Regions from separate parts of the Homo sapiens genome. Here region 1 is linked to region 2. Evidence: promoter capture Hi-C in human tissues and cell types (Jung and others, 2019). All regions are on one chromosome and are shown on one strand. Each heading gives the region's core, a stretch centred on a gene start or on the middle of the fragment in contact. The rest is flanking DNA. Distances are from core to core; before and after follow the strand shown.

Evidence for each region. The method cuts DNA at HindIII sites, captures the fragments that hold promoters and counts their contacts. A contact is called where the count stands out against the background at its distance.
Region 1: a contact is called between a fragment that was not itself captured here and the fragment with the promoter of CCNL2 in region 2, in 1 of the 25 tissues and cell types used here (lymphoblastoid cells).

Annotation. Positions count from the first base shown.
Region 1 is chr1:1,132,041-1,138,733 of GRCh38, forward strand. LINC01342 (long intergenic non-protein coding RNA 1342) reads left to right here and starts at 4,977. Exons shown (of 3, transcript NR_038869.1): 1 at 4,977-5,070. All of the region lies in intron 1 of LOC124903820 (a long non-coding RNA gene), which reads left to right. RefSeq lists a cis regulatory region at 2,810-3,894, silencers at 4,846-4,905, 4,926-5,175, 5,276-5,465, 5,526-5,605, 5,676-5,775 and an enhancer at 6,307-6,693. The HindIII fragment of the contact is 9,857 bases long and covers 1-6,693 here.
Region 2 is chr1:1,397,830-1,403,702 of GRCh38, forward strand. CCNL2 (cyclin L2) reads right to left here and starts at 1,506. Exons shown (of 11, transcript NM_030937.6): 1 at 1,190-1,506; 2 at 768-842; 3 at 404-513. The coding sequence starts at 1,477. It overlaps MRPL20-AS1 (MRPL20 antisense RNA 1), which reads left to right and starts at 1,701. Exons shown (of 3, transcript NR_015434.1): 1 at 1,701-1,860; 2 at 2,329-2,474; 3 at 2,776-4,217. MRPL20 (mitochondrial ribosomal protein L20) reads right to left here. Exons shown (of 4, transcript NM_017971.4): 4 at 4,080-4,427. The coding sequence ends at 4,254. RefSeq lists silencers at 1,219-1,398, 1,469-1,708, 1,999-2,058 and an enhancer at 2,444-2,987. The HindIII fragment of the contact is 25,727 bases long and covers 1-5,873 here.

The DNA.
Region 1 (6,693 bases), core at 2,905-5,404, 260 kb before region 2:
GAGGTCGTCAGGGAGCAGAGCCCGAGTCATGGGACACAAGGCCGGACCCCTCACCGCCAGGGAAGCGGAGTCACAGGCACGTGGCCCTCTGCGCCCAGGGTCAGGGCACGGGAGGCAGAGCCTGAGACGGGGGTGCCCATGCAGGGTGTGCTGGGGGTGGGGTTGTGGGGCCTCTCAGGGGCAAGGGGCAGGACCGGACAGCAGAGAGATCCCACTCCTGCCTGAGACCCGCCGCCATCGCCGCCGCGAGCCCTGCGTTGGGCATTGGGGCCAGGCACCTGCCAGGAGGGCCTCTTCCGAGGTGGGGTGTCACCTGGGATGTGTCCGCTGGCAAATGGGAGAAACACCAGGGCGGCTGCCGGGGAGGTCGATGTCAGGGAGCCCGTAGCCCTGAGCCCATGTGTGGAGGAAGCCCTTTGTCTGAGGAGCCTGCGGCCGCCTTGGACCCTGGATGCTTGCAGGGAATCTACACAGGGTTGTCAGGTACGACAAGGGTGCCCAGGGCTGAGGAGGGTGCCCATGCGGCCTCCTACAATGCGTATGGGAAGCCGGTGAACGCCCTCCCTCAGGGCTGGCCGGGTGCGTCTGGGGTTGTCCTAGCTCCAGCTGCTGGAACAAAATACCGAGCCTGGGGACTTAAGCAACAGAAATGTATTTTCTCACAGCCTCGGAGGGGGAGGGGAAGGTCCGGTGTCCCAGGGTTGCCGGGCTGGTTCTGCGGAGGCCTCTCCCGCTGCTGCCTTCTCTCAGGCGGCCTCTGCGCAGGTCCGTCCCGTGTCCCTCTGCCCTAACCTCCTCCTGCAACTAGGACACCAGTGGGACCCGGCCAGGGCTCATCCTCACGGCTGCTTCCCACATACTCACCTGTCTCGTAGCCCCTTCTCCACACACGCTCGCGTTGTTGGTACTGAGAGTTTGGATTCTAACCATGAACTCTGGGGGCACAACCTGCCAGAGGGGTCACTGTGTAGCCCGGGGGACCTTGCAATGTCTCATCCTTAAAACCCCAGGAAGAGCAGAGCTCTGCTGCGTGTGCTCGCGGGTTCCGCCTGAGAGCAGGGTGGTTCCGGGCTGTGTGTTCCGCCTGAAAGCTGAGTTTTAGGAGCAAGCAGGAAACACAGAGGAGAAGGACCAGGAACCCTGGGGAGCCCGGGGGAGCTACAGGTGGAGAAAACTGCCCTGAGAGTGGTGGGGAGGGCAGGTCACACCCACCCCAGGGAAGGTCGCTTGGGTTTACGTGGAGACGTTGTTTTGGGGTGGCGGGGCCTGGGTGTCCAGCATCCCTGGTACATCCCTCCTGGTGGGGTCCTGCCAAGGATGACGCTCCGGCTGGGTGGGCACTGCAGTCTCAATGCTCGGGGTCCGGTGTGGGGGGCTCCCGGTGGCTGCACCCCTCGCCCTGCGCCCTGCCCGCCGCCTGCCTGCCCGGCCTCCTCAGCAGATGCTGGGCTCTGACCCCAGCGTCAGGCAGAGGCTGGGCCGGCGGCCAGGACGACTCCGCCTGGGGTTTAATGTTCCACTTCCTCCCCGCTGACTGACCCTACGCAGGCACTGGCCCTACTCTGAGGCCTCCCAGCCTCCCTTCCACAGGTCTGGCTGGGGAGGTGGTTGACGTGGGGAGGGAAAGCTTCCCAGGACGTAGATTTTGTTTTCTTTTCCTGGAAAAGGGCGGCTGCTCATGCTTCCTTGCTGAGGTCCCCTCCTGTGTCCAAGAAAACTTAGTGGTTTTCTCTCTCTCCTAAGAAATACAGGCCTCAGGTAAGGCCGGGCACAGCGGCTCACGCCTGTTATCCCAGCACTTTGGGAGGCCGAGGCGGGCAGATCACGAGGTCAGGAGATCGAGACCATCCTGGCTAACACGGTGAAACCCCGTCTCTACTAAAAATACAAAACATTAGCTGGGCGTGGTGGCGGGCGCCTGTAGTCCCAGCTACTCGGGAGGCTGAGGCAGGAGAATGGCGTGAACTCGGGAGGCGGAGCTTGCAGTGAGCCGAGATGGGGCCACTGCACTCCAGCCTGGGCGACAGAGCGAGACTCCGTCTCAAAAAAAAAAAAAAAAAAGAAAGAAATACAGGCCTCAGGTAACCAGTGCTGTCAAAACATCCCCGCATGGCGAAATCCCTCACGCCCCCCTCCCCACATGCCCGCGTCTGCTTTCTGCCCTGTCCCAAACCATTCACCTCCTCACCCCGCCACCCCAACTCCACTGTCAAACCGTTCACCCCCTCACCTCGCCACCCCGACTCCACTCTCAAAAACCAGAACAGGTCACCAGTGCTTCCCTCCCTAAACAGTTCTGTGCTGTCCTGGGAGCACCAGTAACATCCAGTTCCCCGAGGGACCAGGGGGCTGCCTCAGGGGGGAGGGGTCTCCTGCAGGCCTGGCATAGTGTGGCTGTCCCTACACCCAGACCCTGCACACGGCCCCGCGACACGGGGAGGCTGAGGCCTCGCAGGGCCCTGGGTGTCTCCACCAGCTCCTCGGGGTCCGCTGTCCTGCTGAGGTGCCCGCAGGACCCTCAGTGGGATGGGCACCAGCCCTTTTCAGCGTTCCGCCGAACAGGGGCCCAGAGTGCCTGAGAGGCGCCTGTGTTTGCACATTTGGAGGCCGGTGGGGGTCCGTGCAGGCGCAGAGCCCCACAGTAGCAGGTGGCCCCGTGGGGAGGCTCCCCGATGGGTACATCCCGCAGCAGCATCTGACATCTGAGTCTGCAGCCCCTCTCAGGAGGGGGCACCGTGAGGGGTGTGGCTTCCTCGCCATCTGAGGCTGCAGCCCCTCTCAGGAGGGGGACACCGTGAGGGGGTGGCTTACTCGCCAGGCTCCCTGGGGGCTGGGCAGCGATGGCTGGCTTCCCAGGGGCCTTCCTGAGTCACGGACCCATGGGGTCCTGGCTGACTTTGCCTGCGGCGTCAAAGGGCTTGAATCTCCGTGTAGCCACCGAGGCCTCCACTCCTGGAGACCCCACCCGTGATCCCACCTCCCCCAGGCAGATATCTTGGCTGCAGCCATTGTCCATCCCCCGGGGTCACCGTCCCCTCCCCGCCCCGATGCTCTGACCACCCGGGGGCTCCTCCCGTATCCTTTGGGCCTTCGGGAGACCCCACTCCACCACGGGGGCCTGGATACAGGGTCTTGCCACCTCCCTCCCCAGGGAGGGGCCTGGGAGAGTCTGGAATGGGATGGTCGCAGGCAGTGGGGGCCCTCAGGGTAGGGGCCTGATCTGTGCATTTGGGCACAAATTCCCTGGGCGTAAATGTCACCGGAAAGGGATCCCAAAGAGGGCTCTTGGACCTCGAGCAAGAAACAGTTTGGGGGAGTCCACTGATAAACTGAAAGCAAGTTTAATAGGAAAGTAAAGGAATAAGAGAAGGGCTGCCCCATAGGCTGAGCAGCGGCCTGGGCTACTCCACTGAGAATACTTATTGTTGTTTCTTGATATGTACTAAACATGGTGTGGATTATTCCGGACTTTTCTGGGAAAGGGGCAGGCAATTCCCAGAAGTGAGGGTTCCTCCCTCTTTTAGACCATCTAGGGTAACGTCCTGGCGTTGCCGTGGCAACTAAACTGTCCTGGTGCTGGTGGGCGTGTCTCTCATGCTAATGTATTATAATCAGCGCATAATGAGCAGTGAGGACTGGCTGTCTTGGTTTTGGTGATTTGGGGCCGGCTTCTTCACAGCATCTTGTTTTATCAGCGGGGTCTTTGTGACCAGTCTTGTGCCAACCTCCTATCTCATCCTGTAACTAAGGATGCCTGACCTCATGGGAACGTGGCCCAGCCGGGCTCAGCCTCATTTTACCCAGGCCCTGTGCAAGATGGAGTTGCTCTGGTTCAAAGGTCTCTGACATAAAGACCTCAACCAGGCTGGTCTCACGCTGCCAGGACAGCTGGTGAGTGCAGGTGGGCAGGGGCCACTGCCCCAGCTCCCGTGGGCAAGGCTGAGGGTGAGGGGTTCCGGAGCGTTCCACATTCTCCTTGCAATGCTGGAAGCACGGGTGTCTCCCATCCCGACACGCCTCATTCTGTCTGCAGCTCACAGGGCCCGGCTTCTGCAGCTCACAGGGTCCGGCTTCTGGAAATTCTGCTTTTGCATTTTGTACTCTGTCCAGGGGCCAAAACCCAGGTCTGGAATTGGTGTGGTCCCTGGTGGCACAAACCAGTCCTGGCTAAGAGGCCGGCCCCTCTCACTCCACTGAAGAGACAGGGGGCTGCATGCTGAGAGGGCCAAGGCCAAAAGGAGCCTGCTGCTGTTCACAGCCCCCTGTGTGCCTGGGGCCCACTGTTCACAGCCCTCTGGGTGCCTGGGGGCTGGGCTGGGGGCTACTGCAACCCTTGGCCTATGGTGTGGTCGAGGGAAGGGGAAGGGACAGGGCTTTGAGAAACACGGTGATGGGGGTGAGGGTGGGGACTGGGGACGGTGGGCGTGGAGGTGGAGGCCCTGTGGGTGCTGGGCAGGGCAGAGGAGCTAGGCCAGATGCTGTGTTTGTGTGGGGTGCTGAGTGGCCAGCCTAAAACCTTCTGAGAAAGTAGGATCCAGCACAGGGAGCTTCAGCTTCTCTGATGGGAGGCAGGAGGGGGTCAGGTGGGAGCTGCAGGGCGTGTCGAGCCGGCCCTGCCCTGGGTCCCTGCGGGCCGCCTGGCACACAGGAGGGCGGTTCCTTTCCTGTTGGACCCGGTCTCACTTCATTTGCCCACGTTAATTGGGGCGCAGGTGCAGCTCTCGGGCAAACAAAGGTGCGGTCGCCAGGTGGACTTAACCCTTTCCCTGGCACTGGCGGGGCCTGGGGGGAGGCAGCAGGAGGGGCGGCCGGGTGGTCAGTTTGAGGACCTGGCCCCACGTGCCTTTGTGGGATGGTGGGGACCCCACACCCCCGCTGGCTGGGCTGGGATGGTCGGGCCCTGGGCGGGGCAGGGGCTGCACCTGGGCCTCTGGGCCACCTGCCTGGCTCGGTCGCGCCCCTTCTTTGGTTTCCAGCTAACGACGCGGCGCCCACCGAGAGCTGGGGGAGCCCAGGGCGGGGAGGGCGCGGCCGGAGCGAGCGCCGCCCGGGAAACCCGAGCCCCGCCAGGTGCGCGGGGACAAAGGCGGTGCCGGGAGGGCGGGTCCTGGGGGTCCCCCTGCCCCCTCTGCGGTGCGTTGGGAGCTCCCGTCCTCCTGCGCACACTCAGGGAAAGACCGGAGGAACCGTGGCGGGGGTCGAGGCCGGCGTGGGGTGGGGGCGCCAGGGGGGCGGGCGGGGCCCAGAGCCCGGGACACGCGACGAGGGGCCGGACCCCGAGGATGCGAGGATGCGGGGACCCTGCCCCCGCTGGGCCGGGTTTTGGGGGCCCGGGACACTCAGCCCCGCCCCCCGCAGGCTCTCTGTGGCCCTGGGGTGGGAGGGCTGCGGTCGAGAACCCCCCACGCGGCCCCTCCCCGGAACCCGCAGGCTGTGCACCCTCTGGACTGAAGTCACCCGTCAGTCCCGGCTGGGGGTTTCCGGGAACAGGGCAGGTGCTTTAAAGCAGGGGTGGCCGATCTTTTGGCTTCCCTGGGCCACATTGGAAGAATTGTCTTGGGCCACACATAAAATACACTAACGATAGCTGATGAGCGAAAAAAAAATTGCCAAAAAAATCCCATTATGTTTTATGTTTTAAGAAGGTTTACAAATTTGTGTCGGACCCCATTCACAGCAGCCTGCTGCCATTGGACAGCTTTAAAGCCTGGAGGGCTTGCGACTGGGCGTGTACCCTCCCCGCCTCCCTCCCCCTCTCCCTCCCAGCCCAGCCCTTGGCTGGGTCCTGGGGCGGGGCCCGGGGTCCTCTGTCCAGGAGGTCTGGTTCCCCCAGCAGTGAGTGGGGTGGGCCCTGCAGGGGGTCTTGGCCATTGCAGTGGGGACCCCTGAGCCTGCCAGCAGGAGTGAGGACTCTCAGAGGAAGGGGTTCCCTAAGGGATTCGCACCCCTCCTCTCCCACCAGGCACATGCTCAGGTGTGGCCCAGCCTCTGGGTTCAGGCTCACGTCCTGTGTGGCCTGGAGGGAGTTCACGCCTCAGGGGTGTCTTCCCATCCCAGGAGCCCATGGAGGCCTTCAGGACAGGGCTGTGCGAGAGGAGGTCGTGCCCACGAGTTCCTGCCCGGTGGGAATGAGCAGGGGGCGGGCGGGGGGTCTCAGGGCGAGATCTCCGCTCACCGCAACCTCCGCCTCCCAGGTTCAAGCCACTGTGCCCGGCCTGGGGATTCATTTTAGAAAAGACAAAATGCTGGCTGGGTGCGGTGGCTCACGTCTGTCATCCCAGCACTTTGGGAGGCCGAGGCAGGTGGATCACCTGAGGTCAGGAGTTCAAAACCAGCCTGGCCAACATGGTGAAACCCCATCTCTACTAAAAATACAAAAATTAGCCGGGTGTGGTGGCACATGCCTGTAATCCCAGCTACTCGGGAGGCTGAGGCAGGAGAATTGCTTGAATCTGGGAGGCAGAGGTTGCAGTGAGCTGAGATCACACCACTGCACTCCAGCCTGGGCGACAGAGTGAGACTTCATCTCAAAAAAAAAAAAAAAAAAAAGTGACAAAAGGCCAAGGAAAGGAGAAGGGGCAGGAACATCCTCTGGGCGGTGGGATGGCCACAGTTGGTCCCACCTGGCAGCGAAGGTGGCTGGAGTGACCCATAGGGCCTGGCCCACTCAGACACAACTGTCGGTGCCTCAGG
Region 2 (5,873 bases), core at 256-2,755:
ACTCTGCCCTGGACAACAGGAAACCTGTCTCAGGAGGAAAAAAAAGATTATCCAGCCTGAATGTCAATAGTGCTGAGATTAAGATTCCCTGCTCCAGAGCACTCAGAAACTTGTGGGACAGAAGCAGCAGCAGGGCCGTGCACTGACATGGGTAAAGCAGGAAGCCAGCCCCAGCGCGACCCGCCACAGCGCACTGTCCTCACTGGAGCCCCTGCCCTTACTAAACCGCATCTACTGATGCCTCTGAGCAGGCTCTGTTGGTGGAGCTTGAGACTGCGCTCATGAATATCCCACAGGTTTAGAGCCTCAGGCCTGTATTGTGTTATACAAGCCTTACTGTAACTTAATCAGAAATAAAGAAAATAGGCATCTATGATAGACTAGACAGCTCTGACTGACTCACTTTTTGTCTCTCAGCTGTCGAAGGCGGTGAAACACATTGATGACGTCCCGTATGCGTCTTGGGGCCTCTTCTATCTTGGAAGCCAGGTGGACACAGGCCATTGACACATGCTGAAGCGGAAGCATTGCAACACGCCCATGTTTGTCCCCAGCCACGGCGTCCTGACGGCCGCCAAAGGCTTGAGGGCTATTCAGACCAAAAGGGAGGTGCACCCAGGGGAAAAAAAAAGTCAAGAAACAGAACCCTCCGGCACAGAGCTCAGACTGGGGGGCAAGTACTCACTCCCTTAGTAACCGGGCAAAGTAACAAACCGTTTTACCCTCAACATACTTCGCTGGGAATGAAGTGCAGGAGGAAGCCTTACCTCCATGGAGTGCTTCACGAAGGACTTGGTATAAAAGAACCGCTGGAACAACACCTGCCCGGTAGCCATGGCCACCTAGAGTAGAAGAAAGTTTCCGTATTTTCAAACGCACCATTCAAAGCCTTCGCGGCCGAAAGTCATCGAGTAACGTGGGACTCCCCACGCAGAACCAAACACTGAAACGCTTCCCACGTCCACAAAGGCTCTTCGCGTCCCGCCGTCTCGGGATCCAGCGCACTGGCGGGCGGGGAGGCCCCGGGTCAGGGGCATGGGCTGGCTAGGGAATGGCGCCGAGGCTGGGGTCGGGGCAGGGGCTGGGGTCGGGGTCTAGGCGGGGGCGGTGCGGGCCCGACTCGCCGCCAACAAAGGCGGCTGCCGCCCCAGCGGTTACCTGGGCCGGAGGCTCGCGGCCGCGCCCTCACCTGCGGCAGGCGGAGCAGGATACCGGCCGCCTGGATGAGCTCGCAGCCCACCACGCGGAGGTCGGTCTCTGTGTCGGTGTCGAGGCCGCTCGACATGGACGGCGTGAAACGGAGCTTGTCGTCAGGCAGGAGGCAGTTCTCCAAGGTGATGAGCACCCCGGAGTACAGCCTGTCCCCGATCAGCACCCCCTGCGACCCTGAGGGTGCGCCCCCAGATCCCGGGGCGCCGGCCGCTGCCGCGGGAGCTGCCGACCCTGCAGCACCAGCCGCCGCCGCCGCCGCCGCCATTTTGTGCCGCCGACTCCCCTTCGGCTTCTTCCCTCAGGGCGGCTCCTCGCGAAGCTCCACGGCCGCCACCGCCCCGCCCCGTCGCGTGCCATTGGTTCGGCCCGCGACCAGCGCGACGCCGCCTAGCCGCAATTGGCTACATAACCTGCCCGTCAGCAACGCGCCTAACGCCGACGCCGGAACCTGGCGCGGGTGGGGCGGGCTCGTTACCCAGGGGACTCCGCGGTGCCGGCCGACCCGGAAGCATGTCTGTCCCTAGCGGAGGCGCGGGTGCCGTGCTGAGAGCGCCTGCCTGTGCGCCCCGAGCGGGGCTGGGACTCTTCCAAGATGCCCACGTTCGCACAGAGACCCCGGATCGCGGAAGCTCGCGTCTCGAAAGGCCTGTGGGTCAAGGGGGGCCATCTCGGTGGGATCTGGGGCGGGACGACCCCCACTGCTGAACCCTGGGCGCGGGGCAGGGTCAGAGGCTCCGCTCGGCCTCCCCCTGGATGAGACGCGCATGCCCGGTGTCCCCCGGCCGCCGTCGGCGTCGTGTCTTCAGTCCTTATCGACTCCAGACTTTGGGGATGCGTATTAACGCCAGACTCCTGCAAAGTCTTGCCTTCAACACTCAGCCCCTGGGGAGAGACGGGTGGAGGGATGACTGGAAACGTGGCCTCGACGTCCCTACAGAGCCCCTCCAGCGTGGGGAGGCCTAAGTACCTCAAGGTTCAGGCCCACGGAAGGAGTCGGGGGAGCGAGGCCCGGTGATCTACGTGTGAAGGAGCTTGGACAGGACCTCACAAACGCCAGGGAGACGGCGAGGGGGTTCGTGCGTTTGTAACGTCTTGACATCGCTGATCCTCCCGCAGGCGGTCTCACGCCCTGCCCGTCCTGGGTTCACGGTTTTTCATCACCTGCGGCTGTCCTGCGATCGACCACAGCTGTGCAGGAGGGGCAGGAGGTATCTGTTGCTGCAGTTACCGGAACCTTTGCCAGGACTAGTACAGGACCACGGGTGAGGATGGTGGGGAAGCCTGCGTGGGGCAGGGAACGGTGAGGCAGGAAGAGGGAAGGGCAGCAGAGGCCTGAGTGGTTGCAGGTTCACACACTGAGCTGCCAGTAACTGCCCAGCTCAGACGGGCTCAAATTCAGAAGCCACCATTGCTCCTCACCCCCACCCCCAGGTCAGCTGTCCACTAGCTCTGCCATGACTTGATACTGCAGCTCAAACAGTGCCAACCAAAACCCACTCTCCTCACCGCCTGTTATGGGTAACACGGTATGGTTACAGCTTTACTCATGTCCTCTTTCCCCAGGCTGGTAGCTCAGGGATGTCTCGTCTGTGAGTTACAGCTGCACGCTCTCCAGGAAAGAAGGAATTTCCTCTTCTCTGGAAACCCCACCACACAGCTGGTTTCTCATTGGTGCTGCTTGCCCATTCCCTGAGCTGTGACTGCCAGAGGAGTGGGAGGTTGGTGGTGCCTCCAGCCCATCAGGGGCAGGCCCTGGGACCGCCTGGGAACAGGAGGACTATGGCACAAACCGAGTGAGTGATGGGAGCAACCCGCAGGGCTCTGCCACATCCCTGTCTTCCTTCACTGACATGAAACGCAGAAAAGGCAGCTTTGCCACAACACAGGAGCACGCACCGAATGTGGCCGCCCAGGGCTCTGTCCTTGACCCTGTTGTCCAGGACTGTTTACCAAGGGCTGACAGGCACTGAGTGCCCCGTGCACCTGGCCAGACACTGCACTCATGCAGCGGAAAGGACAGTGAACGAGACTTTGTCCCTGGCCTCCAAAGGCTTAGGGCGTAGTGGCTGTCATGAGGCACAGTGACAAGGGCCAGGAGGGGGACCTCTTAGGGGGCCATGCAGTGATGGAAGCCAGAAGGAATGAAGGCCTGCAGTGAGGATGGAGTGGTCGGCCTGAAGCCATCTCTAGCAAGTGGTCAGGACGCTGATTGTTCTGCGCAGGTTGGAGGTAGGTGGTGAGTCTGAGAAAGGGGCCGGAAAGACTCCCCAGCAACTGCTGGCAAAGGGTGAAGGGCACGTTCCCACAGGATTCAAGCCAGCTGCCTTTGGAGGGGAGACGGGCACTCAGTTTAGGCGCTCCTACAGCAGGGTCAGCAAGACAAGCAGGTTGCGGCAAGGGTCTGCGCACTGCTGTGTAAATGTAGGGGCATCGGGGGGCAGAAAGACCAGGGGAGAAGTGTGCATCACCCTTGGGGTTAAGGGACAGTTGTCTGCTAGGTGTTGCTTCCTGGAGATGGCTGAAAAGCCAGTCCAGTCTGCAGGGACCAGGCCACCACCCACCTGATGTGGGAGCATTTCCCCCAATCCCTGCTGGGCTGCTGAATCTGGGGGACATAGGGAAGCTGAGGCTGGTGTTCTGAGTAGTGGCAGAGCTGAGCCACAGGGCATGTCTGAGGTCAGCCCCGAGCAAAATGGAATAGGGACTCAGGGTGGGTCAGGTAACTGGAAAGCGGGCACTGTGCACGCAGCCCTTGAGGGGAGCCAGGGTGGGTGGGGATCCCCCACTGTGTGCAGAAGGCAGCAGCCTTGGAAGCAGGGTGTGCTCCTCGGTGTGGTCGCTCGATACCAGAAAATGACTCTAAAAACTGAAGAGTGTTTGAGTTTCATTCACACAAAACATGGACATCATCTGTGAGGCTCTGTCCCAGAGAGACAGGGCCATCCCTCATGTCTGTTATTGGGTTGTAGATAAACAAAAGTATAAATCAAACAAACTGCAAATTACTCTGTCTCTTTTCCTAATCAATACAGCAACAGTCCTCAGTGGTACTGCACCACTCTGGAAAAAATGCCTTCAGGTTCCTTCCCATCCCCCAAGGCAGCAGCAAATCCTTCGTGTCGCCTCCTACTGGCCAAGGCAGCCAAAGATTTGAAAGTCTTTGGCTCGTAGATGGCCAGATCCGCTAGGACTTTCCTGTTGAGCTCCACCTGGCACTGAAAAAAGAATGAATCAGAACCTGCTGTCAGTGTGAGACACACACTCCGGCTCCGCGTGGTTGCGGCGCTGGCTCAGGAAGAACCCAGCTGCACACTCGCCTGGGGGGAGGGAAGGCCTAGGAGAATCCTATCTGGGTGGCACAGCAGAGGACTTCCAGGCAGGATGCTGAAGGATAAATGTGGACACGGGTGAGGGAAGCACCTGTGGAATCTGCAGGGAGGCTGGACTCCAGTCCTGATGTCGGCCCGGGGAACCAAACACCTTGTTCAGGGTCCTTGGTCACCACCCTGACTGAGCTGACTGCTGGCCTAGGGTAACCCTTTAAGCCAACCTGGAAGTGCCTGCAAGAACCACAGAGGATTTCAGAAGCTAGTGAACAATGCCAGAGTTTAAGGAGTAGAAAAGGGGGGCCGTCTCTTTGAGCATTAAATTCAGCTACCAAGGCAGGGCACGGTGTCTCGCCTGTAATCCCAGCACTTTGGGAGGCCAAGGCAGGCAGGTCACCTGAGGTCGGAAGTTCGAGACTAGTCTGACCAACATGGAGAAACCCTGTCTGTACTAAAAAATACAAGAAAAAAAACCACAAGGCCAGGCGCGGTGGCTCATGCCTGTAATCTGAGCACTTTGGGAGGCTGAGGCAGGCGGATCACCAGGTCAGGAGATCAAGACCATCCTGGCTAACACGGTGAAACCCTGTCTCTACCAAAAATACAAAAAAATGAGCTGGGCATGGTGGTAGTCACCTGTAGTCTCAGCTACTCAGGAGGCTGAGGCAGGAGAATGGTGTGAACCCGGGAATTGGAGCTTTCAGTGAGCCAAGATCGCGCCACTTCACTCCAGCCTGAGCAACAGAGTGAGATTGTATCCAAAAAAAAAAAGGAACAAAAACACAAAATTCGGCTACCGAGGACAAAGTGGCCTACTACCTGTGACCTAACTGTACTACCTGTGACCTGTATGCTTTGTGCAAAGTCTGTCTCCTTTCTTTCTTTCTTTTTTTTGAAACAGAGTCTCACTGTGTCGCCCAAGCTGGAGTGCAGTGGTGCGATCTCAGCTCATTGCAAGCTCCACCTCCCAGGTTCATGCCATTCTCCTGCCTCAGCCTCACAAGTAGCTGGGACTACAGGTGCCCGCCACCGCACCTGGCTACTTTTTGTATTTTTAGTAGAGATGGTGTTTCACCATGTTAGCCAGGATGGTCTCGATCTCCTGACCTCGTGATCCACCCGCCTCAGCCTCACAAAGTGCTGGGATTACAGGCGTGAGCCACCGTGCCCGGCCAAGTATGTCTCCTTTCTTAACTACAGTTCCCTGAGTAAAATGGGAAAGTCAAACCTCCTAAGCCTACCCTGAAGATCTTTGTAAAGCACCAAAGAGTGCCTTCTGCAAAATACCCACCCCCTCAACCTTTTAGGAAAAACTTAATGTACACAAGCAGAGGG